Regions from separate parts of the Homo sapiens genome. Here regions 1, 3, 4, 5 and 6 are each linked to region 2. The links are contacts of gene promoters, found by promoter capture Hi-C in human tissues and cell types (Jung and others, 2019). All regions are on one chromosome and are shown on one strand. The core of a region is centred on a gene start or on the middle of the fragment in contact, and the rest is flanking DNA. Distances in the headings are between cores, read along the strand shown.

What was found. The method cuts DNA at HindIII sites, captures the fragments that hold promoters and counts their contacts. A contact is called where the count stands out against the background at its distance.
Region 1: a contact is called between a fragment that was not itself captured here and the fragment with the promoter of NCAM2 in region 2, in 1 of the 25 tissues and cell types used here (dorsolateral prefrontal cortex).
Region 3: a fragment that was not itself captured here is called in contact with the fragment with the promoter of NCAM2 in region 2 in 1 of the 25 tissues and cell types used here (lymphoblastoid cells).
Region 4: a fragment that was not itself captured here is called in contact with the fragment with the promoter of NCAM2 in region 2 in 1 of the 25 tissues and cell types used here (lymphoblastoid cells).
Region 5: a contact is called between a fragment that was not itself captured here and the fragment with the promoter of NCAM2 in region 2, in 1 of the 25 tissues and cell types used here (lymphoblastoid cells).
Region 6: a contact is called between a fragment that was not itself captured here and the fragment with the promoter of NCAM2 in region 2, in 1 of the 25 tissues and cell types used here (dorsolateral prefrontal cortex).

Annotation. Positions count from the first base shown.
Region 1 is chr21:19,322,109-19,325,611 of GRCh38, reverse strand. No RefSeq gene overlaps it. Among named protein-coding and RNA genes, the nearest start is that of MIR548XHG, 560 kb to the right of the region's middle. The HindIII fragment of the contact is 8,874 bases long and covers 1-3,503 here.
Region 2 is chr21:20,997,031-21,000,279 of GRCh38, reverse strand. It overlaps NCAM2 (neural cell adhesion molecule 2), which reads right to left and starts at 1,871. Exons shown (of 18, transcript NM_004540.5): 1 at 1,662-1,871. The coding sequence starts at 1,716. The HindIII fragment of the contact is 14,781 bases long and covers 1-3,249 here.
Region 3 is chr21:22,027,813-22,031,134 of GRCh38, reverse strand. The region is part of intron 4 of LINC01687 (long intergenic non-protein coding RNA 1687); the gene reads left to right. Among named protein-coding and RNA genes, the nearest start is that of LINC01687, 69 kb to the left of the region's middle. The HindIII fragment of the contact is 8,159 bases long and covers 1-3,322 here.
Region 4 is chr21:22,119,586-22,122,764 of GRCh38, reverse strand. No RefSeq gene overlaps it. Among named protein-coding and RNA genes, the nearest start is that of LINC00308, 23 kb to the right of the region's middle. The HindIII fragment of the contact is 4,627 bases long and covers 1-3,179 here.
Region 5 is chr21:22,705,988-22,709,637 of GRCh38, reverse strand. No RefSeq gene overlaps it. Among named protein-coding and RNA genes, the nearest start is that of MIR6130, 370 kb to the left of the region's middle. The HindIII fragment of the contact is 4,596 bases long and covers 23-3,650 here.
Region 6 is chr21:22,988,940-22,992,108 of GRCh38, reverse strand. No RefSeq gene overlaps it. Among named protein-coding and RNA genes, the nearest start is that of MIR6130, 89 kb to the left of the region's middle. The HindIII fragment of the contact is 4,354 bases long and covers 1-3,169 here.

The sequences.
Region 1 (3,503 bases), core at 35-2,534, 1.7 Mb after region 2:
AGTCTATTGAATTTTAAGGAGTAGGAGGCAGTCATGGCTGACTGTGTTTCTTTCCTATTAATCTGGGGTATGGAAAGGCAAGAAGCAGGAACAATTACAAGTGTCTATTGTAGTCATTTAAATGAACCTATACATTATAAATTATATTCAATAAATTATAATCTATAGGTTATAAAATTTTTGAACAAGCAGTTACCACTATTAATTTTTACAAAACATTAATCTCATTAGTAACAAATCACTGGGGAAGAAAGAATTCTAGTTAAGTAAAGTTAAGTAAATTCTAGTTAAGAATTCTAGTTAAGTCAAATTTTTTCTTATATTTTCTAACTGAACTTTTTGTATCTCGTGCAATATTACATAGTATTCATAGTGTAGCCAGTGCATGGCCATAACATTTAAAGGCGTAAGAGGATATTATGGAGAACATATGCATGTATTGTCTGTTTTTGAGTTTCAACTTGAGAATGTAGCTCTGTCCTTCACAGAAAAGAGTGACTGTGATGGTTAATTTTAGGTGTCAACTTGACCAGGCCACTGAATGCCAAGATACTTGGTTCAACATTATTTCTAGGTGTGTTTTAGGGTGTTTTCAGAAGAGATTAACATGTGAATTGGCCAACTGAGTGCAGATGGCCCTCCTCAGGGTGGCTGGGCATCATACTATACACTGGGGGCCTGAACAGAGCAAAAAGGTGAAGGGAGTTTGAAGTTTTTTTCTGCTGGACTGGTTGAACTCGATACTGATCTTCTCCTGTCCTTGAAGACCCAGGTTCTCATGCCTTCACTTTGGACTAGAATATACACCAATGACCCTCTGACTCTCAGGCCTTTAAACTACATGACCAACTTTCCTGAGCCTTCAGCTTAACAGATGGAAGTTCATAGAACTTAGCTCCTTAATCACATGACCCAATTCCTCATTCTCTCTCTGTCTCTCCAAATGTGTGTGTGTGTGTGTGTGTGTGTATGTGTGTGTGTGTGTTTGTGTATAAATACATATTTGTACACATAAGTCCTGCTGATTTTGTTTATCTCAGGACTGGCTAATATAATCTCAAAGAATAACTGTGAATTTACTATATCCAGAACTTTTCAAAATACTTTAATAATGGAATAACTTGTCTGCCAAGTTTTGATTTCTGCATTTTTTTTTTGCATTGAGTATGAGGTATATCAATGTAATCAATCTAGTTATGATTAGGAGTAATTTGTTTATCTTAGCAAATACGTAGTCCAATCCATGTGTCTGAAAATAGGAATGGCAGAGGACTTAGTAAATCATGTAAGAATTATTCTTAGTTTTACTCTTCGGTTTTGATAATGTCTGTGTCTGTAATTGAACTCTACAAACCACAGTTCGGTTATCTTTTCCTGCCAGTAAAGACAAGAATAATTATACAGTGATTGTCACAGTAGAACAAAGATCTAAAATTTGGGGGCTCCGTGTATAACCTTACAGACAAAAGTGTAAAGTAAACCTACAATAGTAAACTTATCTTAAAGTCAAAATTTACATATATGTCTTTATAGACCAAAAGAAGAAAGAGAAATGTGTTCAAATCATCATACATGTTTCTACTTCTGACTGTAGTGGAGTGTGTGAATGTGTATGTGTGTAGGTAGGTTTAGAAATTTAACCAGGACTTCAGTTTTTCTTAGATTTATTCAGACTACTTTAATCTATAACAATAGTTTACACATAATAAATGTTCATAATATGAGCCTTTCTTCCTTTTCTGTCTTTAGAATTTCTTTAGAACACAATGCCCAGACTAATGTAACTAAATATATCATTCTGACTTTAGCTGTCTACGGCAGCACGACATGAGCACATATGAAAATATTTCATGGTTTTTAGTTGGTGAAGTCATTTATTTTTACTTGCTATAATTCTTCACAGAATTATTTGAAATCATTTCAATCACATAACATCTCAGAAAAGATTTTTTCTTTCACATTACTAAAAATGTATGACTCAAAATAATTACTAGTTATAAAAACCTATTTACATACCTTAACATATAAGTAAACTGAATCCTTTCAAGAAGGAAATTTATATACCTTAACATATAAATGAACTAAATCCTTCCAAAAACGAAATATAAGGGACTATTTGAATCAAATCAACTGTGTACAAATCATTAAAACTTAGAATTTTAGTTCTGAAATTAGAAAATTATTGATATGTAATAACCTAAAATGACCAATATATTTTAGTTTTTATTAATGTGAGACAATCATATATTTTCTCTCATTCAGAACTTGGTTACTTTCAAATAATGTTTATAATTTTTTTTTTCCTAGTGCCTTATGGTAATTTTTCCTTTTTATCTCTCAAATGAGTTCCAAGCTGTCTCAGTAAACTGATATCCTGTTCCTTTCTGCTTTCACAAAGAATATTTTACTTAAAAATCTTCTGATATTTTTAAATACATCCTGCACATAATTTATTAGTTTTAAAGTTTCCATAATTTATGGATCAAAAATATTAAGGTCTATTGTAGTTCATCACAATCCTTTAAATTTCTGGCAGGCATACAACCAGATTATAAATGAATCTGTAAGAGAATTTTATAGATAAATGAATTTTATGTAAGATTATATTTGAGATGCAGGTATCTCTACTTCAGAGAGTACTGATATTCTTGCTATGCTATCTGAAATCAAATCACAAAGATGATCACCAAAGAAAGTGAGGCATACTTTTGTCTGATTTTTAATACATAAATCCCATTTGAAATGATTTCACCAATTAAATATAGAAATCATAAGTATGTAATATTCATCTTTATGTTCACTTTCTGAATATTACCACAACCATTTGTAAGTCCTTGACTTTTGCAAATGTAAAAAATAAGTAGGATTTTCTTTACATTTGAAATTTCAAATAATTTTCAGCATGTTTTTCCAGCAACAGCCCTCCATCTTTGATATACTCAAAGAAAGAAATGGTAGCAGAAATCACATATAATTTGCAATTTTAATGTAGAAAATGTTCTTATAAGGACTTATCAAAAATTTAATGCTTTTCCAAGTTTAATCAATAGTGCCACCAGGTGGTTACATTAATGCAAGAAAAAAGCATTGTTAAAATGATTTAATTTCGTTTAAAAATGTTGTTGGGGCTTATTCACAACAAAGTAAAATAATGACTGTATTGAATACTTATATTTAATGGAAAGTAATATGAAACTTTCATTAGCTAACTTCTATTTCTTTATAGCAAATTATTATGAATTACCTAGTTTCATAAAGACTTGGTAAACCATTTAATCCTGATTTGTTGCACGTTATCCCTTCTTCATTAGTAAGCACATATCTTAACTTTCAATTCTACCAGTTTATACAGAGATGCCAACAGTTCAGAAATAACCAATGAGAAATGCACAGAAAGCATCACTAGTTATGTAATATAAATTTACCTTTCTCACTGAGATTTTTCCAGAAGTGTACCTTAATAAAAACTCATGATTTTTAAATTTAGGTAGTATTCTGGTTTT
Region 2 (3,249 bases), core at 622-3,121:
ATTTAATTGCAGTTGTATTTTAACTGCAATTTTCAGGGATTGTTTCTTGGTGCTCAAAAATACCTGTCTATGCTATAAATGAACAGTTAAACACAATCAGCAGCTATCTGAAAATTAAAGAAGCATATCTGTAGGACATATGTGCATGCTGATCTTTGCTTAAGAACCACTGAATTAACGAATTGGGCTAGTATTAGCTTCAGATGGACATATCTGCAATTTTGCTAAGACTGAAATATTTCATACTCTATGTTAGGAAGGGAAAATGAGCAGAATCTTATCAAGACACTTTACAAACTATAGGAATATCCAACATTTGCATACTGATTTCTGAACATTAAATCTGCATCCAATCGTGTTTCATCCGCCACTAACACTATAGCTGTGGGGAGGAGAAGGGCAGAAAAAGGAAGGCTTCACATCCAAAATGTCAAGCCCTGCTGAAGAATGATAGAAGGACTCTGTGGAAGAGCAGAAACCAACTTCTGGGCTTAAAATGGAGTTCTACCACCCCCTGCTGGACCAAACGAGCAATACAGAAGAGGCTAAAAATGCTTAGAACTGAATATCTTGGGGATATTTTAACTTGTCTTGTAATTTATTATATTATTTTAAAAAACCAATTTCACACTACACTAACAACATAACATTCTTTGCAATCATTACATATCTCAAAATTAGTGCTATTTTATTTTTCCTTTAAAGACTTTCACCAATGCATGTTTTAGCATTTTGTGTCCCTAATTAAACGTCCAAACTTGTCTGGACAGTTGAAAATGCTTCCATTTATTGTAAATATATTTCATGTGAGTGTTTACTATCTAAACAGCCAGATAAATTCATATCTATCTCTCTAGAGACAAACAGTGATAGCTTCCACAAATTCCCTCTCAGGTTATTCTACCAGGCTATTCATTTTTTTTTTTTAAGAGATAAAAGCTTCCACCAGTTCTCCCACAACCCCAAAAATCCTCTACAGGTGTAATTACAATGTAATGTTATAAAATGATTCCACCTTTCTGTATTAATAAGGGGTTGGGGTCAAAATGAATGACTGCAACACATCCCTAGTTTTATCCATTTGCTTTCTTACACACAATATCCACGGCCCCTCTCTTAGTTTCCAACAGAAATAAGCCATCATCATTCACTTCATAGTCAGGAATTAGGGTTTTGGGAAAGGGGTGGAAAAAAAAAAGAGTCTCCAAGAATCGAACGTCTTGCACACAGCAGATATTTTGCAAATGAGTTTAACACTGATAGTTTTTGCTGCTTCTGTAAAACACCATCGTGCCCTTTCCTTCCGCAACCTCAGATATTTCACTGTTAACACACTCATCCAATTTCTGATAATAAAAATAAGAGAAAGCCATAATCCCAGAGGAAAAAAAAAGAAGAAGAAGAAGCGGTTTCCCTGGATATCCTGCTCACCGATTCCCCTCTCCAATTCTGTATTTTCCCTTCTCTTATTTAAGGGTCTCCACACAACAGATACAATTTTAGGGACAGCTAGGAGAAAGAACGAAAATAATAATAACAACAACAGCAATAACTGTAACTTTAGTTCTTTCATTTCATTCTTCCTGCGCCTCCCTCTTTGCCTCTCTTGGCCGGGTGGAAGGGGGAGGGAAAGTAAATGCAATAAAGCGCCACACTCCTACCTTGCCCGCTACTGACAAGCAACCCCAGCAGGTAGAAGGAGAGGAGGAGGCTCATGTTCAGGACGTGACACCGGTGGACAGTTTCAAAGTTATTAAGTCCAGCCCTGGAGAGAGAACCTTTCGCTGCCCCGGCCGCCTCTGCTAGAGCCGCCGCCGCCGCTCCCGCGGTGCCCCAGCCGCCCGCAGCCCGCGCGCTCCTCCTCGCAAAGTGACTGCAAGCTCCGCTCTTGCCGCACTATATCCAGGCAGCGGCGGCGGCAGCGGCGGCAGAAGCAGCAGCAGCAGCGGCCGCCGCGGCGGCAGCAGAGCCGGGCGGGGAGGGCGGCGGGGGCGGGGGCGCGGCGAGGGGAGGTGCGGCCGAGGCGTATCCCTCCGCGCTGCACGGCGGCCGCTCTTCCGCGAGGCGCGCGGTCCCGGGATTCGTCCGCAGTGGAGCTCGAAGTCACGGGTTCGGTCCCCGGTGCCTCCGCCTAGAGGGGCGGCCGCGATCGCGAAGGCGCCACTCGCCCGCCGGCCATCCGCAGGTTCATGCACGCCCTGAGCCGAGAAGGGCGTGGGGATGGGGGCAGCCTGGAGCTCCTTCACAGCCGCCGGCTGCCTCAGGACAGCTGAGCTGATGCTGAGCTGAGCTGAGCTGAGCTGATGCTCATGCAGATGCTGATGCTGATGCTGATGCTGATACTGATACTGCAGGCGACCGCCCCGAGCGCGCCCCGGCTCAACGTGAATGGGGGATCTGGAGGCGGGCGGTGTGCCCCGCAGCTTATTCCTTTTGGGCGTGGGAGGAGGGAGATTCTTGTCTCTCCGTGGACCTCCTTCTCCCTCTCTCGCTCAAACCTGGAGCAGGCTGGCCCCTTGCGCGGCTGTCCCCTTCCCACGCTCCCCACCCCGCCGCGACAGAGGGGAAGCAATTGTACCCTAAAGTCTACACTGTCTGTCTCCTCAGGCGCTAAAGGGTGGGCGGAAAAATAACGTACAGAGTGTTTCCTCTACATCTCGACCCATTGCTGTTGGGAGCGGCACCTTACGGGAGAGACACTGGAGAGGGGACGAGCCGCGGGAGGGGCTGCGTTCAACTCAGCCTTAGCCTCAGCTGTGTCCTTAGAGGCCTGAAGTCTCTCCTGGCCTCACTCCGCGGGCTCTGCCCTCGGTCCCAGTGCGCTGCACTGGCCAGATCCCCGCCAGGAGTGCACCGAGGGAGGACTGCAAATGTGCAAAGATGAGTTGGGTCGCGGGGGGGAGACCTTCCCCAGATCAGTGCCCTACCCCGAACACCCACGTACCCGCGTGTGCGAGTGTAAATTGAAGTGAGGGAGCCGTGGCAAACGCCCGGAACTAACTCTCTGCTCCTTAAGATTGGGGCTTATCGTTATTTCTCCTAGAAGGGTAGGAAAACGTTTGTGAGATTAACGTCACCTCTCCTGCAAGAGCGGTTAAGAGGCAGAATCACCGGCCCGGGTGCGGAGCCCATGTCAATCTGGCCTGGGGTTACCGCGACCTGCAAACGCTGACGATGGGTCCTTTCATCTGCACTTTCTCTCTGGCTCCTTAGAAAACTCAACTGCCTCGCCCCGGCCTCCACAAGGAC
Region 3 (3,322 bases), core at 29-2,528, 1.0 Mb before region 2:
ATCATTTTCAAATATGTATGTCATTCAATATTTTCAGTAAATACTTCCATATTGGTAGAACATGCTGTAAACCAAATTATTCTTACAGTTTAGAAGTCAATTTTTCAGAAATTCCACGAATTAGATTATCATTACCTTTTTTTTTTTTTTTAATTATACTTTAAGTTCTGGGATACATGTGCAGAACGTGCAGGTTTGTTACATAGGTTTACATGTGCCATGGTAGTTTTCTGCACTCATCAACCTGTCATCTGCATTAGGTATTTCTCCTAATGCAATCCCTCCCCTAGAGCCCTAACCCCCAACAGGCCCCGGTGTGTGATGTTCCCTCCTTCCCTGTGCCCTTATGTTCTCAGTGTTCAACTCCCACTTATGAGCAATTATGAGTGACAACATGCGGTGTTTGGTTTTCTGTTCCTGTGTTAGTCTGCCGAGAACGATGGTTTCCAGCTTCATCCATGTCCCTCCAAAGGACATGAACTCATTCTTTCCTATGGCTGCATAGTATTCCATGATGTATGTGTGCCACATTTTCTTAATCCAGTCTAAAATTGATGGGCATTTGTGTTGGTTCCAAGTTCTCGCTATTGTGAATAATGCTGCAATAAACATACATGTGCATGTGTCTTTGTAGTAGAATGAGTCATAATCCTTTGTGCATATACCCAGTAATGGGATTGCTGATCAAATGGTATTTCTAGTTCCAGATCCTTGAGGAATCGCGACACTGTCTTACACAATGGTTGAACTAATTTATACGCCCACCAACAGTGTAAAAGCCTTCCTATTTCTCTACAACCTCTCCAGTAACTGTTTTTTCCTGACTTTTTAATGATCGCCATTCTAACTGGCATGAGATGGTATCTCATTGTGGTTTTGATTTGCATTTCTCTAACAACCAGTGATGATGACCTTTTTTTCATGTTTTTTGGCCGCATAAATGTCTTCTTTTGAAAGTGTCTGTTTATATCCTTTGCCCAGTTTTGATGTTTTTTTTTTATTTTCTTGTAAATTTGTGTAAGTGCCTTGTAGATTCTGGATATTAGCCCTTTGTCAGATGGAGAGATTGCAAAATTTTCTCCCATTCTGTAGGTTGCCTGTTGACTCCGACGATAGTTTCTTTTGCCATGCAGAAGCTCTTTAGTTTAATTAAATCCCATTTGTCTACTTTGGCTTTTGTTGCAATTGCTTTTGGTGTTTTAGTCATTAAGTCATTGCCCATGCGTATGTGGAACAGAACAGAAGACTCAGAAATAACACCACACATCTACAACCATCTGATCTTTGACAAAAACAAGCAATGGGGAAAAAATTTCCTATTTAATAAATGGTGTTGGGAAAACTGGCTAGCCATATGCAGAGAACTGAAACTGGACCCCTTCCTTATACCTTATACAAAAATTAACTCAAGATGGATTAAAGATTTAAACGTAAGACCTAAAACCATAAAAACCCTAGAAGACATTTTATGTCTTAAGTGAAAGTTTTGTGATAAAATGTTTATTCTATCATTTTATGATGATGAACTTTGGTTTATTTTAAACCCCTATAATGATTGGAATTTTATTTTGTTTTACCAGTCTTCATAATAAAGGAATAAACAAAATCATGAAAAATAACCTACTGCATTTAAATGAGAGTGCAGTGAGCCATTTAACATTATTCGTGTTATATCATGAACATGTGAATTGCTTGGCAATAGCAGACTCATCCAAAAAGTTCAGACAATTAAAATGGAGAAATAGTGTTGTCCAAAGCATGTTTAATTCCCTAGATTGCTTTCAGCTATGATTTTTCAAATTTACTCACTTCAACATTTCTGATGTTCAATATTGACCAATGATATTTCCTTGCCTGAAACTATTAGCCAAAAATAAGGAAATAAATAAAACAAGCTTGAATTTGGGTGAAATTTTATATAAAGATGAAATGCTATACATTGTTTATATAGTGTATGAATAGAATAACAATTTGTCAACCCAGTCTAATGCAAAGTTAGCCACATAATTGTCTTAAATATTTGAGGAAGATATTTAAAGTAATGCAAGTGAGATATGTGATTTTGTTAAAATGCCATAATGATAAAAATGTACTATAGACTGTGTGGCTTATCAATAATGGAAACTTATTTCTCATAGTCTTGGAGGATGGAAATTGGAGATGAGCACCATCCTAACCGGGTTTTATGAGGAGCCTTTTCAAGTTTGCTGATTATTATTATTATTATCATTATTATTATTATTTGAGATAAAGTCTCGCTCTGTCGCCCAGGCTGGAGTGCAGTGACATGATCTCGGCTCACTGCAACCTCCGCCTCCTGGATTCAAACGATTCTCCCACCTCAGCCTCCCCAGTAGCTGGGATTACAGGTGCCTGACACCGCGCCTGGCTAATTTTTTGTATTTTTAGTAGAGAGGGGGGTTTCTTCATGTTGGTCAGGCTGGTCTTGAACTCCTGACCTCAGGTGATCCGCCCACCTCAGCCTCCCAAAGTGCTGAGATTACAGGCATGAGCCAACGTGCCCAGCTGACTACTAGTTTTCATTGCATCTTCACTTGCAGAAAGAGCTAGAGCTAGCTCTATGGCTTCTTATTAAGGCACTAATCCCATTCATGAAGGCTTCACCCTTGTGGCCTAACTACCTCCCAAAGGCCCCACCTTCAAACACCATTATTCAGGGACTTGGATTTCAACATATGAACTTTGCAGGGGGATGTTTGTGGGGGGGTTACAAACATTCAGATCAAAGGCTACATCATAGTCACTTTTCTTTGTCTATTTTGTGTCCTACGAAGACATAGATTGGAACTTAATGCCTTTAACATGTTTATAGAGGCTAGTTTTAATAGGCTTCTTTAATTGTTACCTCTGAAGTTTGAGTGATCTCTTGGTATTTGAAAATCTTATCTAAAAGATTTACACAACTGTCAAGAAAAAGAAGTTTTAAAAAGCTTATATCCACTACCAAAAAAAAAAATAATTTCATTAGGTGTTTTGAAACAACATGCTCAAATATGTCAGTCAAGTTGAGGAGCTGTGAGCTCACCTATATATCAATTATTGCAAATCTATTCAAATAATACTAAAGCTTTGCATTGTCTTAGCAGCAAATCATCTAAATATGTAAAACATTTCTTTCTTTTCTTTTTTTTTTTTTTTTGAGATGGAATCTTGCTCTGTTGCCCAGGCTGGAGTGCAGTGGTGCAATCTTGGCTCACTGCAATCTCCGTCTCCTGGGTTCAAGCAATTCTCCTGCCTTTGCCTCCTGAGTGTCTGGGATTATAGGCACAGGCGCAGGCCACCACGTCCAGCTATTTTTTGT
Region 4 (3,179 bases), core at 146-2,645, 1.1 Mb before region 2:
TAAAAGACCGAGGTGACCACTTTCAGAAGGTTCTCTAAAGTACTATCTGGTCCCAGGGCCTGTTCCCTCAACTTCCTCCTGATATCAGGGGCTGCCTGAATAATAAACTTATTCTTTAAGATTAGTTGTCCCTCGATGGAATCAGGAGACAGAGAGGTGTGCATTACCAAGCCTTCTCTTAGCCATTCCAAGAAGGCAGTGGGATTTTCATCAAATCCCTGATCGATCATGGACAATTTAGCATAATTGGGAGGCTTGATCCTGGTCTTAAGACCCCGATTATGCATACCTAGAAGTGTCTCCTATTCCAGTCTCTCATCTCATCATTGGGATCCCATCCAGGGTCATTCACTGGTACTGCTTCTCTACCAGTTAGATAATGTTCACCGTCTTCCCTGATGCTATATGTTATACAAAGCTCCTCCCCAAATCTCCCTGTCACTTGCAAAGTGGCTTGCTTCTCAGTATGCATCAGAGTCTGATTCACAAGTAACATAATATCTCTCCAGGAGAGTTCAGATCTTTGGGTGAAATTCTGGAAAGCCTCTATATATCTGTGAGGGTCCTCTACAAACTTGTCAATAGCCCCCTTAATTTGCTTTAAGTCCTATAAAGAGAAGGGGTCTGGACCTTACTGGGGCCAAATTCACCAGGCACTTGTTGCAGAGGCAAGAGTAAGACTGGGGCTTGTCTAGGGTGAGAATTTCTTGGAGGGGAAATGTGAGAGGCTGAAGCTGGATAGGGAAGTTGGGGAGGACCTGAAGGAGCAGGGTTGGAGGGAGCTGGCTCCTCTTCTGGGGGAACCTCTGGGGTTTCTTTCTTTAGTTGCTTGAGATTGCCCCTGGTAGCCTCTCCCGAAGTGGCAAACAGGAGGGCTGGATCAATCCTACACTGTTGGCAAAGATCAGGATTGCCCTGCAAGATATAGAAAGCCTGCACATATGGGTCCTCAGACCACTAGTCCTCATGTTTACAGAAAAGGTCCAATTGCAGGATGGTATTGAAATAAATGGTTCCTTCCTGAGGCCAAGCCAGTCCTTGCTATAAATCATAATTTGGCCAAATCTTTGTACAGAGGACTATGAGACATTTTTTTTCCTCCAGATTCTGAGGGTCAAAGCAGTTCCAATGGTTTAGAATACATTCCAGAAGAGTACAAGCTGGGGGTGGTGAAGAGAGCTGGTTACTCATTCCGAAAGATAGGCTATAGAGCCGTCCCTCACTTCCCTTCCTTCTTTCAGCGAACCTCGGGGTGTGGAGAGAGAAAACAAGTGCCCTCCCTTTCTCTTCCATCTTTTTATCCCTGTGTCCAGGTGACCTTGGCAGGTACTGCTCATGGGTGCCAATGCAGCATGCACCCATAAAACAGGGAAAGCGTAGAGAACAGGAATTTTCTGACCTTACCTTCGCCTCCATCTTTCCCTGCTGTTGACAACCTTTGAGTTTCCTAGGTCTCATTTACGCCACAGAGCATGGCCTGTTTCCGTGGGGTGGGGGCTTTGGTCAGCAGGAATTGGTCCTGTCCATTTACATTGTGCCTATTGCCTGGCTTTGGATCCCTCAGATCTGGTTTTCCTTTCTAGGGCCTCAGCCTGAAGCTTGTAATCAAGTTTGGGACTCAAAAGTATTTCAAGTGGCTGCATGAATCAACTATCTCAAATGAGCCCCGCTAAATTTGCAGTTATCAGCCAGTAGGGGTCGCTTCTCCATTAACTTCCCTAACAGAAGCAGCGTGCTGGGGAAGAAAACCTCTTGGAAAAGGAAAACAAGAGAAAACAGTTTAAGGAACAAAAGGGGAAGGTCCTGGGGGAAGAACCCCTTGCTCAGCGCAAATGTGTCTCCTTAATCATTGTATGCTTCCCCTCTGTTCAGACAGAGCTGAATTCCTTGGCCAGAGTAGAGTTCCACTGGCACACCGGGCAGCAAGCGCCAGCCAGCCAACCGTGCAGGCTCCCAGTGGCAGCTGTGGTTTTTCCCCCGCCCGTCGTGGCCGTTGCCGTGGCCATTTCATCTGGGGGCTCCATCTGGGATATTCATCAGAAGGGTGAGTTGAAATGGAAAACTGTCGGATCTGTCTCTTTTCCAAGACCCTGCCACCTCTCTCTTTCATGCTCTGTTTCCTTTCGGGGAGGTCTAACTACCACATGGGTCGGGAGTAAAGCCCCGGGGCAACTGAAGGCATCTTTTGCTGGAAGGCCCCAAGGGTGAGCTCCATTGGTCAAGAACCCCAGACTTCCTTTGGTGTCTTGTCTTCTCTCATGGTTTGAAATGGTTCTGATCTTTCCTTTATAATGCTAAGCGTTTTGCTACAGATTACGGCTGTAATACTAAATAGAATGAGCATTTGGCTCAGCCATCAAAGGTGCAAATCAGAACAACATGGTTCTGTTTCCACCCCCACATCCACAGGCACTCAGGGAACTTGACAAATTCATGCCCTGTCCCCTCCCAGCTTGGGAACCTGGTCATGTTCACTGCATGCAAAAGCCATGTTCACTGGTCACGAGGGGCGGGAGAAAAACCACGGCTCTCACAGTAATTTGTTACAGACAACAGAAAAGCAATAGGGAAATAATACATTAACATTATTTAATCTGCATATCTCTGTAGGTGTATCAATCTCTTTCTATATATGTATAATTATAATACATATATCTATGCATCTTCCAAAATGATTTAAAAGTGTCTTGAATCAAAAACTATTTTATTTTTTGAGACAAAGTCTCACTATGTCACCCAGGCTTAAGTGCGGTGGCGTGATCACACCTCACTGCAGCCTGGACCTCCACGCCTCAAGCAATTCTCCTACCTCAGCCTCTTCAGTAGCTGGGACTATGGAAGTTCATCAGCACACCAGGTGAAGTTTTTGGAAATTTTTTCATAGAGGTGAGATCTCATTATGTTGCCCAGGCTGGTCTCTAACCCCTGGGCTCAAGTGATTCTCCTGCCTTGGCCTTCCAAAATGCTAGGATTTCAGGCATGGGCCACGGCACCCCAAAAACTGATTTTAATTTGGTACATTTTATATGCCAGGCATGTCCTGAGTAGCTACTTATGATAGAAGTTAAGCTACGGGTAAATGTAAATGACCATTTACATTCAAGTAAGCATAACTTGATTGATTTATTTGGAGTAAGTGGTACACTTATTCCAAAGAAAGAGAGTGAATAGTAGAATTT
Region 5 (3,650 bases), core at 1,071-3,570, 1.7 Mb before region 2:
GATCTCATTCATTTTTATGACTGCATAGTATTCCATGGTGTATATGTATTACATGTTCTTTATCCAGTCTACCATTGATCAGCATCTAGGTTAATTCTATGTCCTAGTTATTGTGAATAATGCGGTGATGAACATACATGTGCAAATATCTTAATGGTAGAACCATTTGTATTTTGAGTATATACCCAATAATGAGATTGTTGGGGCAAATGCTTCCCATGGTGGCCGAATTAATTTACACTTCCATCAGCAGTGTATGTAAGTGTTCCCTTTTCTTTGCAACCTTGGCAGCATTTGTTATTTTTTGACTTTCTAATAATAGCCATTCTGACTGGTGTGAGATGGTATCTTATTGTGGTTTTGGATTGCATTTCTCTGATGATTAGTGATGTCAATTACCTGGATTTTAAAAAGCATAATAATCACATTTTGCTTATGTGACAGGAGTTGTTATTTTTAGTTATGTATGCAGAAATATTTAGAGATGTAAACTAGATATCTGTGATTTTTTTAAAAAAATAATTTGAAGTTCAAGAGGCTGAGAGAGGAGAAATTAAATAATTTGTGGCATGAAATTGTTATAGTTATGGGACACACTATGGCTTATTATGCTCTGCCATAATAACATGTCTAGAAATTTGCATATGAAAAGAAATTTAAATATTAACAAGAGAAAATATTACAAATAATTTTAATAGTTTGGATATGTACTAGGTATGATGATAAATCATTGCTAATTTTGTTACATGCTATAGAGTTACTAAGGTTTTATAAGAAACTGTTTTTTCTTTTTTTTTTTTTTTTTTTTTTTTTAAAGACAGAGTCTCACTCACTATGTTGCCCAGGCTGGAGTACAGTGGTGCCATCTCAGCTCACTGCAACCTCCACCTCCCAGGTTCAAGTGATTCTCCTGCCTCAGATTCCCAAGTAGCTGGGATTACAGGTGCACACCACCACACCAGGCTAATTTTTGTATTTTTAGTAGAAACGGGGTTTCACCATATTGGTCAGGCTGGTCTTGAACTCCTGATCTCATGATTTGCCCACTTCGTTCTCCCAAAGTGCTGGGATTACAGATGTGAGCCACCGCGCCCCACCAAGAAATTGTATTTTTAAAATCCATTACAAAATATGTAGACATGAAATAATGTAGTATCATTAAAATATTCAGAAAAATAAAAGAGGACTGAGGCTAAGATGAAACATGTTCTGCAAAATGTTGGTAGTTACCAAGTTCTAGCATGTATATAGGAGTCTATTCACAATCTAATTTTGTGTGTCTCTTTAAAAAATAATAAAAATCAAAGAAAATTGAAAATCAGAATAGAATGAGCAGGTTTTCCCAACATGCAATGCAAATATAATGCATAGTTATTTCTCAGATTTTTTAAGAAACTGATATTTTACATTATGTCACATTTTATGAGTTGGCATTTTTAACAAGCAATTAGTGCTAATTTCAAAATGAACATTTTTAGTCTAACAGTAAGTATATAACTTTCCCTTATTCTATTTCTAGCTTATAATGTGTTACTTAATGTGTTGGATCTTTGTGTTTTGATTTCCTTTCATTCATGTCAGAAGCATTGGGAGCAATAAAACATGATCCTTCTGTTTCTGCGTTCTTCAAGTCTTGCTCTCACATGAGTATTTCTCATTTTATTGGCATTTATCTTGATATTTTTATTAATGGTCCCATTGCCCCCACAACAAGTAGGCTTTTTCTTCATTTTTTCATTTTCCCACTGATTGTTTTTATGCTCACTTTCTGTTATTAACCGGAGTTTAATATGGATGCAAATGACCTGATCACCTTATGCTTTAATCTAGAGCCTCTTCATAATCTCCTTAAACTAAAGCATGACAATATGCTTCTCAAAATTGCCTCCCCTATAAAATACATAGTTATATTTTGACTTATTCTTCCTCTTTATCCACTGTATCTAATTAACCAATAACTAATTAATTATTTTAAGCTTTATTATAGCTTCTCTTCTTTTCTTACTTTCCTCTGCTATGCCTATCTAATCCCATCCACAATTTCACACTTACCATTAGACCATTTTAATCACTTATTAATCAATACTTGTAGTAGGTATTTTCTGTATGTCATTTATGTAAGAATCTACTTTTTAAAAATTGTTGATTTTTAAAATATTGATTTCAGAGGGTACTTGTGCAGGTTTGTTACATGGATATGTTGTGTGAAGCTGAGGTTTGGGCTTCCACTGAACCTGTCACCTAAATGATGAACATAGTGCCCAAGAGGTAGTTTTTCAACTCTTGCCCTCTGCCATCTCCCCCTCCTTTTGGAGTCCCCAGTGTTCATTGTTTCTATCCTTATGTTCATGTCTACCCAATGCTTAGCTTCCACATCTAAGTGAGAACATGAAGTCTTTAACTTTTTATTTCTGAGTTAATTCACTTAGGATAATAGCCTCAAGTTGATCCATGTTGCTGCAAAGAATATGATCTTGTCCTTTTTTATGGCTGTGTAGTATTCTATGGTGTGTATGTACCACATTTTCTTTATCCAATCAACCGTTGATGAATACCTATGTTGATTCCATGTCTTTGCTATTGTGAATAGTGCTGAAGTAAACATATGAATGCAAGTGTTTTGTTTTGTTTTGTTTTGTTTTCCTTTGGTAGATTAATTTTTTCTAATTAATTTCTAATTAATTTTTAAATTTCTTTTCCTTCGGATATATACGCAGAAATGAAATTGATGGTTCAAATGGTAATTTTAGTTTTTGTTCTTTGGTTTGTATCTATAGTATACCATTCAAAAATTCAAAATTTAAAGAACTTGAACCTTCATAAATACATGTAGTTTTTACTTTTTAGTTTCCTTAGTGTACTCATATATTTTGATAAGAATTCTAAGTTGAAAGGATCCTCTTTTGTTTACAGTGGTATTTACTTCAATCTATGTTTTATTCTTTTATATAAACTTCATGAGATAACACACATAAAAGTTCTTTTCTTATAATACCAGCAGCTTCAGATAAAAATCCTTCCAGCACTTACAGACAAATCCATTATAGCTTACCTTATTCCTTTTGGGTTATATAACTATCCACTAAAATAAAATACAAAATATTTTACAGTATGTTTTAGTATTTTTAATATGCATGGCAAAATGTATTAAGTATATTTGAAGGCCATGACTTTAGAGTTCTTACTATTTAGCTATTCTAAGTATAAATTTGTATTTATATAGTAAAAAAAAGGTTCTATTAAACAACATAGATCTAGGCAATAATTAGAAAAATAATCATCACAAAGAATGTATTTTCAGAACAAATTACCTTAATTAAACAATTTGCTTAGTACTGATTTTTACAATTTTTAAACTCTATTTTAGCTATTAGAGTTTAACAAATAAAATCACTATCAATATCATTTTATAATATAATCAATGTCATTTTTATAAAGCTGGATTAAAGATATTTCTGAGAAAAAGAAAATGCTTAGATAATGAGTAGTGATTACTTGTGATGAGTATGTTTTACAGTTTCCTCTCCTCTGTCTGCATGTTTACATTTTTGAGAAGTTATACCAATATCTGTGAATGAAAGACATGTATGGAGGCATTAAACTGTCTTTTTTTTTAATTTTAAGAGATAAAAGAAATCAATACTTCAGTT
Region 6 (3,169 bases), core at 553-3,052, 2.0 Mb before region 2:
AGATTTTTGTCCTTCAACCTTCTACAAGCAAAACAAAGAAGGCTAAAAATCTTCTCAGAGAAATATATATATACTACCCCCGATGAAAAGAAAAGGATGATTTAGATGGTGAAACAAGAAATCTAGTAGGCAGATTCAAAAGCCCCAGAGAATAACTGAGTCTTAATCTAATAAATAACCCGATGAATTTTCAAATAACTATTGACCAATGACTGTGGTGTGCCTCCTGATTTTCTCATTTTAAACTGGGAACGTCTATCGTGGTTACATAAGTCTATGCCGCCATAGTATGATGACTATGTAGTAGAGTAGAGAAATACATTTTCAGTTCACCTTTAAGCATATGTATTATTACTTCCCTGGTCCTATATATGTCTGCTTATCACTTGGGTTAATATAAGCATCCCAGTTTTTCACCTACTGCATGACAATATATTTGCAAAAAAAGACTGAAGTAATTTTTTTCAACATTCAAATCAAATGATGTCCCTCTTTGCCCAAAATTCTGCAATAGCTTCACATCTCACTCAAAAAAAAAATAGTCTTTACTCTGAACAGAAGACCAGCCACCTTCTGTACCAGGATACTGAATGGCTGATTCTAATATTTCTTTCTGTTTGGACAGTAAGCCCATACTCTTTGCAACATAGCTCTGTGTGCTCTGCCATTGTAGATTAAAAATACTTGTCTCCCATATTAATATTAGACTTGGCTACGTAATTTGCTTTGGCAATGAAATATGAGTCTTTTTGGCATAAATAGAGACACAAAATATGCTTTTTTTTGGTCTGGTTTTCCATCTACTATTATCCCTAAAAAGAACACACCTCAGCTGCAGATCTAAAGAGGGACAAATGGAGCAGCTCTTGACTCGTTTTATAGACAAATAACAAATGCATCTGGCCCTCATCCAGAAGTAGAAGAGCCCAGTCAAGTTCACACTAGATCAGCTGAACTCCAGGAGACCTGTAGACACTTGAGTGTGGAAAACACATTTTTTTTTTTCTGGTAAACCAGATATCTGTATGCCTGCTTCCTTGTTTTAATCAGAAATATTTTCACAAATGTTACCTCTACCCCTCCCACATTTTAACCATCTGGATTTTTCCTTTTAGTATTTGCACATCTCATAATTGCATATTTATTGTTAATGTCTTTTAATTGTCTGCTTCCCTCTCAAACCTACAAACGTTATGAGAAAGGGGACGTACGTTTTTGTTTTGGTTTTTGGTGTGTTCACAGCACCCCAACTATTGCATAGTTCATAATAGGACCTCAAAATGTGTTTAATAAACTAGGGAAATACGTACATACTTGACTGTGTTAATTCACTATGAGTTTTTATTCATGTTTCAGGATACATCTGAAAAAAAACTATGTAGGTTGACCTGTATTAGGTAAAAGACTATTAGAGGTGTAAATCATTTATGTTTTATTCTGATTTGATGTGATTTCTGTGTGTGGTGAAACCCACAGTATAATATAGAGAATATTTCTGCATAAGGCCAATTTATCCTGTGGTACCAGAGGGGATTTGCTACAGAAATCATCAAAGGACCTCATTAGAGTTTATCTTTACCTACATGGTGAGTTCATGCAATGAACATTAGAGACAGGATTTTAATGAGTACAGTTTACAAAATATTGCTTTCATTACATTCTATAGGAAATAATAACACTGAGTGAAAGTAATTTTAAATATTTTAAAGGATTATTGATTTAATCAAAACAGAAATACATATAATCTTCTAATGAAGATTTTACTTTATTGTCATTCTGTATAATACCATACACAGCAAAGATGTATTAGCTTCATTAAAGAAGTCTTGCATCTGAGATTCTTGTTTTTCTAACCAGCAAAATATTAAGAGGCAAAACTTTCCTTTTCGATATTTTTCTACCTTATAACATAACTTTCCAAGTATATCTCTTCTATATGATTATTGTAGGTTTGGTACCTATGAATATTGGAGGCATATAAGAAGTCAGTCCTCTAATAATGAGCATCACATGAGGTGTCTGTTGATTACCAATGAATGCAGAATACTTAAACCACTTGTTCACTTCTGGTTTAATATTAGACAATTTTATTGTTATTGTAATAATGCCTTTGTTGTAATAATGCTTTTTGATACTGTTATATAATAATGTTTTTTCATTTAAGAATTGTTTTTATAATATATCTCATTATCTTTTTATAAATAACATTCAAATTATTTTATAATGAGATGTTAATAAAATATTTTATTTTATTTTTTATTCTTAATTTTTGTGCATACATAGTAGGTGTATATAATTATGGAGTACATGAGATATTCTGATAACAGAACATGAAATAAGCACATAATGAAGAATGGGGTATCTATCCCTTTAAGCATTTATACTTTTAGTTATAAACAATCCAATTGCACTCTTTGTTATCTTAATATGTACAATTGTTATTATTGAATATAGTCACCCTGTTGTGCTATCAAATAGTAGGTCTTATTCATTCTCTCTAACTAATTTGTGTACTCATTAACCATCCCCACTGCCTCCCTGCCCCTCCTTCCATTTTGAGCCTCTGGTAATCATCTTTCTACTCTCTATGTCCATGAGTTCAATTGTTTGGATTTTTAGATCCCACAAATAAGTGATAACACATGATGTTTTTCTTTCTGTGCCTGGTTTATTTCACTTGACATGGTGATCTCCAGTTCTATTCATGTTGTTGCAAATGAATGGATCACATTCTTTTTTATGACTGAGTAGTACTCCATTGTGTATATGTACCACATTTTCCATATCCATGTATCTGTTGATAGACACTCTTTTCATGCTGCTGATAAAGACATACCAGAGACTGGGTAATTTATAAAGAAAAAGAGGTTTAGTGGACCCACAGTGCCATGTAGCTGGGGAGGCCTCACAATTATGGTGGAAGATGAAAGGCATGTCTTACATGGCAGCAGACATGAGAGAAATGAGAGCCAAGCAAAAGGAGAAACCTATTATAAAATCATCAGATCTCATGAGACTTATTCACTACCATAAGAACAGTATACGGGGGAAAGCGCCCCCATGATTCAATTATCTCCCACCAGGTCTCTCCCACAACAGGTGGGAATTATGAGAGTTACAGTTCAATATGAGATTCGGGAGGGGACACAGCCAAACCATATCAGACACA